Linked DNA regions of Homo sapiens: region 2 is linked to region 1. Evidence: promoter capture Hi-C in human tissues and cell types (Jung and others, 2019). All regions are on one chromosome and are shown on one strand. Each heading gives the region's core, a stretch centred on a gene start or on the middle of the fragment in contact. The rest is flanking DNA. Distances are from core to core; before and after follow the strand shown.

Region 1 (3,525 bases), core at 966-3,465:
AAGAGAGAGAGAATGGGGTTGGATTGGGGAAACTGGCATCCTCACAAGCAGCCTGAAGACCTGGAAAACCTCTGAAGCTAGGCACCTGGGTAAAGGGTGTCCATATAACAAACTCTTCCTAGACAGTGTCAGGAGGATTGGACCTGGGTCCCGCCAGGGCTGTGTCACTAGTGCCAAGGACAGTGCATGGCACATAGTAGGTGCTCAAGGAACATCTTTCAACAAATGACAAGTGAACATATATTTGTACAGTGTTTTTTTTTTTACTATATGAGACCCAGAAAGGAAGATTGAGCAAGATATTATAAACCAAAAATAAAATTCTAAGGCCCCCCAACCATCTGAAAGGACTTCCTCCTCAGCCAGGACTCTTTTTTTTTTTTTTTTTTTTGAAATGAAGTCTTGCTCTGTTGTCCAGGCTGGAGTGCAGTGGCACGATCTCAGCTCACTGCAACCTCGACTCCTCAGGTTCAAGCGCTTCTCCTGCCTCAGCCTCCCGAGTGACCTGGCTAATTTTTTGTATTTTTAGTACAGACATGGTTTTGCCATGTTGGCCAGGCAGGTCTCGAACTCCTGACCTCAAGTGACCTCAGTCTCCTAATAGTGCTGTGATTACACCCATGAGCCACTGTGCCCAGCCAGGGGTCTTTTTAAAATTTAACCTGAGAGACTGTTTCAGGCCATGACAAGAAGTGGGGATCTAACATGCCTCATCATACCTCTCCAGCATTAACACCAACACAGACCTTAAGTCTGATAAGAAACATTTTACAACCTATTCTCTCTGAAGCCTGCTATCTGAAGGCTTCCTCTCAGTTGCAGTGAGCCGAGATCGCACCACTGCACTCCAGCCTGGGCGACAGACCCGTACTTTTTTCTTTTCTTTTTTCTTTTTTGAGATGGAGTTTTGCTCTTGTTGCCCAGGCTAGAGTGCAATGGCAGGATCTCGGCTCACTGCAGCCTCCCGGTTTCAAGCGATTCTCCTGCCTCAGCCTCCTGAGTAGCTGGGATTACAGGTGCCTGCCACCATGCCCAGCTAATTTTTTTGGTATTTTTAGTACAGACAGGGTTTCGCCATGTTGGCCGGGCTGGTCTTGAACTCCTGGCCTCAGGTGATCCACCTGCCTCAGCTTCCCAAAGTGCTGGGATTACAGGCGCGAGCCATCGCGCCTGGCTAGATGTATTTCTTAAATGTATTTGATTGAAGTCTCATGTCTCCCTAAAGTGTATAAAACCAAGCTGCACCCCGACCACCTTAGACACATGTTCTCAGGACCTCCTGAGGGCTGTGTCACCGGCCATGGTCACTCATATTTGGCTCAGAATAAATCTCTTCAAATATGTCACAGAGTCTGACTCTTTTCATCGACAATATTACATTTATTTTACACATAGAAAAGTATTTCAATTCCAATTAGAAGTTTCATACTTGTCCAAGGCCATGCAAGATAGACGTATCTTCTACCATAGCTGATATGTTGGCACCATAACTTAATCATATTGCACATGTGCGTGGTGTTCCACATTTTTAAAGCCCTTTTAGCTGCAATTATGATACTGATCGGTTAGATATTTTAGACAGTGATGAGACATTTCTTCATTTTTCAGAATAAATAAACTAAACTTTAATTGACTGGCTCATCCGGTATAAATAGCCTTTTCTGGATCAGAACCCAGGTTTTGGGGATCCCAGGGCTGAGAATTTTCAATGATCACACTGTCCCTCTCCTGAGCTAGAGAAAACCTACAGCTCCTTGCACCTCCTGTCTTCCACTCCCCAGCAGAAAACAGAGGAGAAGCTGCAGGAAGTACAGAAATTTGAGCTCCAAAGCCAGGATCTGAACGAGTCAGTTGGCACCAGGGGACCATCTACAAAATATACATCAGAACAGCCTGATCTGCTCTCTGGGCTCTTTTGGACCCATTTAGGGATAGAGCTAGTGGGGCTTGGGGGCTGCTGGTAAGCAGCTTGTGTTTTATTTTACCCAGAAAATTCCCCAGGTGATCTGATTTATCCCCTCTGCGCAAACCGCCTTCGCCACTGTAATCTCTAGCTTAGCTGCCAGAGGTTATCTGATACTCTTGCTCCAGCAGCTCTGGGTAATGGCTCTGCATTGGAGTCGTACACAGAAATTCTCTTCTTACCTTGTGGCTTGGGCTTCCCTGCTGCTTTTGAGAGGCTCACTGCTAGCCGGGCCATGCGCTTTTCTCCTCTGACTCACCAACTCCCCTCTTGGCTTCCTCCTCCTACTTGCTTTTGCATAACCGTCCCTACTCAGAGCACATTTCACTGTCCCTCCCTTCTGCCAAAAACAAAAAAGGACCCACCTTGCAAGACGGGCTTGAGAAAGCACTCGCTCCCAGGAAGCTGTGAAAGTAACAGCTTTAACACTGCTGAGACTCAAGGGGTGGGGAGACTGCTTGAGGTGGGCTGGGAGAAGCAAATGAGGAAGCATTTTCCCCCAGACTGGAGGCATCCTGGCATGTTGACTACTGAAAGGCAACTGTGAAGGTCAACTCCCTATGGGCAGAGTGGGGAGGTGGGGAAAAAGAGAAAGAGAGAGAGAGAGACCCAGGGAGCTAGTAGATGAGGCTGATAGGGAAATTTCATGACACTTACAAGCCGAAAGGCTACAAAATCTCAAACCTGATTTTTAGACCTTGTTCTTATCTCCAAGGAGAAAATGTGAAAGTTATTTCTTGCATTACACCTGCCTGCTCACTCCACCCTGGGTCTAGGGAGGTAACATTTCTCAGCCTCTGTGTTGTATTCAATATCTTCACCCTTGCTACAAGAGGTAATAAATATTTTCTGGGAGGACATAGATGTACTGGCTTGGTGGTACAGGAGAAAAAAAAGTCCCCTTTAAGAAAAAAAGAAACAAATTATCATTAAAGATTACAACCTCTCCCTTGCTGTGTGCCCTTGGGCAAATCACTTACCTACTCCGTGCTACTTTACACGGTTGTCATGAGTCTGAAACAATGGATGCCCGTGAATAAACGTAAATTGTGGTGGAGAATGGAAGCCTCAGACTTTCAAGTCCAAGATCTTGCCGGGCAAGTCATACCACCTCTTTGAGCCCTAGAATATCATCGGTGTTAAATAAGGGTAACAATATCTATTTTACAGTATTGTTGTGAATGTTAGGATTAATGCGTATGAAGCTCCTAACACAATAATATGACAATATAAGAGTTAAAAAGTGGTTGAATAATAATACCTTCCCACCGCCACCCACCCCCGCAACTCAGCTGCCACTTCCTTTTCCAGACCTTGGAAGAGAGAGAGAGCAGGCAGGGAGTTGTGTGAGCTTTGGGATGATCTTTGCCGATTTCCATCAGCTAAGTCCGCTAAGCACAAATGACAAGAACCTGTGGTGCTTGCCTTGACTTGATTTCAATTGTGTGGCTCTTCCTCCCTTCCTGTTTCTCTCTGGCAGAGAGAAGAGAAATTTCTCTTCCTCCAGTGAAGGACTTTGGGCAGAGGTGTAACTGGAAGCACTAGAACTGGGCAGTCGGTAG
Region 2 (3,455 bases), core at 474-2,973, 120 kb after region 1:
GGAGGCCGAGGTGGGAGGATCACTTGAGGTCAGGAGTTCGAGATCAGCCTGGCCAACACAGTGAAACTCCTTCTCTACTAAAAATACAAAAAATTAGCTGGATGTGGTGGTGCATGCCTAGAATCCCAGCTACTTGGGAGGCTGAGGCAGGAGAATCACTTGAGCCTCTGGGAGGTGGAGGTTGCAGTGAGCCAAGATTGCGCCTGGGTGATAGAGTGAGATTCAGTCTCAAAATAAAATAAAAACGCCAAATCCCTTTTCTGTTAGTTGTCAAACACACTAGACATCAGGACACGGTGGTCCTGGCTACATGACTGCCTTGTAACAGTGAGAAATATCCAGAGATGGGATGCATGTTAGAGTTGAATGGGGTTTGTCCCGGGGAGAGAGGGGAACCAAAGGAATAGCAAGAGGGTGGGGAGCTTAGCTTTAAAATAATGTTTTGGCTGGACATGGTGGCTCATGCCTGTAATCCCAGCACTTTGGGAGGCCGAGGTCAGGAGTTTGAAACCAGCCTAGCCAACATAGTGAAACCCCATCTCTACTAAAACTACAAAAATTAGCTGGGCATGGCGGCACATGCTGTAATTCTAGCTACTTGGGAGGCTGAGGTACGAGAATCGCTTGAACCCAGGAGGCAGAGGTTGCAGTGAGCTGAGATCGTGCCACTGCATTCCAGCCTGGGCGATGGAGTGAGACTCAGTCTCAAAAAAAAAAAAAATGTTTTACTCATTTAAAAAATTGGTCTGGTGTACCTACGGCAAATGGGTGGGACTTGCTAAATCTGGTTGGCTGTTGCTTTCTGAAACACAGATTTTAGACTTGAATATATGCATTTGCAAACTCTAAGACATATGCGCCTCTGAACACAGTCTGGGTGAATGCAGTTTGATTGTCACAGGCTTCCGACAGAGTTGCAGGTGTTGTATTGCGTGGTTTTCAACAGCAATCAGACCAAAAGGGTGACTACTAGCATGTGAAAACAGAGGATAAGCTTCCTGGGCTCAAACTCCTGAGCTGGAAGTCAGTTCCAGGCCATAGTGTCCAGCCAGAGGAGGACAGCAAGATCGACTCCTGCGTGACCAGTAGCTCACCTGGTCCAAATGTAGCCTCTTACTATAAAACAAAGGCAGAGAGAGACTGAGGGAACTGGAAAGAGGTTCAATGGAGGAAAAATAAGGCAACCTCAGGGATTCACTTTTACTCTCATTTCATTAAGTTCCAGATATTGGCAGACTGCTGGCCTCCTGAGGAGCACAGGAAGGGGCCTGGCAGACTGGTGATCCTGGTTGGAGATGAAGAGGGGCTGATTAAGAGGAGCTGACTGAGGCTGGGAGGTTTCCTGCCCGGGAGTGGCGAGCCTGTCAGAGCTGCACCTGGGCCTACCTGTACCTAGGAGAGATTCAGGGTATGGTTGGCTTCCCACAAACACCTGGGGCTCGAGGAGTGCGCTGCCTCTGTTCCACACCTGATGTGATCCACATCCACGCCCATGCACCTGGCCAGGAGAGTGACTGTCACTGATGAGGCAGTGTGATAGTACCTCTGATGGTTTCTCTGAGATCAGCCTTTGCACTTCACCTGTGTGGGCCAGATGGAAAGCCAGGGTGGAGACGGAGCACCCTGGGTCAGCTGGGATCCCACCGTGCGATTCCACGGCATGGGGTGTCAGAACCTGGAGTGCCGGTGGTGGCCAGAGCAGGGGTGGGGTGGCATTCCTGTGTCTCTGCCACTCACTGGCTGTGTCACCACAGAAAAGTCATCTAAACCTCTCGGTGCCCCAGTCTTGTTCTCTGTCCATGGCAATTCGGGTAGACCTGACCCGGTTGGATGGCTCTGAGGTTTCAATGAGGTATCATACATGCAAATGGTTTTTTTGGAGCCAGGTTCTTTTTATTTAAAAAGATTTTTTAAAATGGGAATACTCGCTAAAAAGAGTACCTGACCTCAGCTGGGCACAATGGCTCACACCTGTAATCCCAGCACTTTGGGAGGCCAAGGCGGGTGGATCACGAGGTCAGGAGATGGAGACCTGTAGTCCCAGCTACTCGGGAGGCTGAAGCAGGAGAATCGCTTGAACCCAGGAGGTGAGATTGCAGTGAGCTGAGATCACGCCACCGCTCTCCAGCCTGAGTGACAGAGCGAGACAAAAAAAAAAGAAAAAGGAAAAGAACCTGACTTCAGTATCTTTGGGTGTCTGGGATTGAGGAGTGTTCCTGAATGGGCATCAGGGATTGATGAACACTTGTGTAAGAGTTAAAGAAAGAGGAAAAAAACATGAAATTTTTAAAGACAGGTTTACTTTAGATAAAACCTGGAGGGGCTTCTGGCCGATTTTGGTCAGGGGCGCTTTCTGTTACAGACTAAAAGTATATATTGGTTTTAGGGTGAGGGTCTTATCACAAGCTTGGAATGTTTTTGGGTCAGGGAGAAGTCTATAGCCGGGTCGGAATGTTTCTGGGCAGAGAGGAGGTTATCTTGGGGCTGACGTCTTTCCGGCAGGAGGGAGGTTAGTTATCTTGGGGCTGGCATCTTCCCAGCCAGAGGGGGGTTATCTTGGGGCTAGCATGTCTCTGGTTGGGGAGGAGTTTGGAATGTTTCTGGTCGGAGATGTTATTTGTAGTTTCTGGTCATGCCGACCTTAGCCATTAGGCTGATGCCTTTTGGCTTTAGGCGGTTTTTGATTAAGATGAATTTTAAAATAAGGTGCTTGTCCACAATGGCAAGGCCCCTGCTCTGTCACCTTGCCCCCCAAAATTGCAAAGCTTTGTTTCTGTGTATGCATGTATAAATATTTTTTTTTCCCTTAGGAGCAAAGGCAATAGCTTAACTAAGATGTTCAGAGGGATCATGACATAAAGACTGGATGCCTGGGGTTGGGGTCAGGGGCGTGTTTCAGGTGCCTTTATTTTATACCAGAGTTTCCCAACCTGGGGAATCTTGCCATGTGGGGCCAAATCATTCCTTGTTGTTGTGGACTGACTTGTGCATTGCAGGGTGATTAGCAGCATCTCTGGCTCTACCCACTAGATACCAGTAGCACCCTCCACCCCATCCCCACCTCGTTTCACCAATAAAAAATGTCTTCAGACATTGCTCAATGTCTTTGGGGAGGTGAGAGTGGGACAAAATTGCCCCCAACTGAGAACTGCTGCTTTGTGATGTTCCTAGTGGAGTTGAGCCCTCGATAAGTGGTTGTTATTTGCTGTGTTGAAGTTTGGCAAGATTTCTCTTCTGGGCTTTATTGATCTCTTCCTATTTCTGTGCACTGCTTAAAGGGAAAGTCGACGACTACAGGGCTTCCAAACTGCAGCCCCATTGGATATAAAGTACGAGTTCCTTAATCTGGTAGGGCAGCCTGATCAACTGGAACTTGGTTCTTACTGTGTTTCTCGTTATGCAAACCTTAAGGATTCCAGCCTGGACAACATAGTGAGACCCTGTCTCTACAAAAA

Evidence for each region. The method cuts DNA at HindIII sites, captures the fragments that hold promoters and counts their contacts. A contact is called where the count stands out against the background at its distance.
Region 2: a contact is called between a fragment that was not itself captured here and the fragment with the promoter of CHST4 in region 1, in 2 of the 25 tissues and cell types used here (mesenchymal stem cells and pancreas).

Annotation. Positions count from the first base shown.
Region 1 is chr16:71,525,116-71,528,640 of GRCh38, reverse strand. It overlaps CHST4 (carbohydrate sulfotransferase 4), which reads right to left and starts at 2,215. Exons shown (of 2, transcript NM_001166395.2): 1 at 2,146-2,215. RefSeq lists an enhancer at 1,972-2,582. The HindIII fragment of the contact is 30,806 bases long and covers 1-3,525 here.
Region 2 is chr16:71,408,299-71,411,753 of GRCh38, reverse strand. LINC02136 (long intergenic non-protein coding RNA 2136) reads left to right here. Exons shown (of 3, transcript NR_146574.1): 3 at 1,220-1,313. Among named protein-coding and RNA genes, the nearest start is that of LINC02136, 16 kb to the left of the region's middle. The HindIII fragment of the contact is 3,624 bases long and covers 1-3,455 here.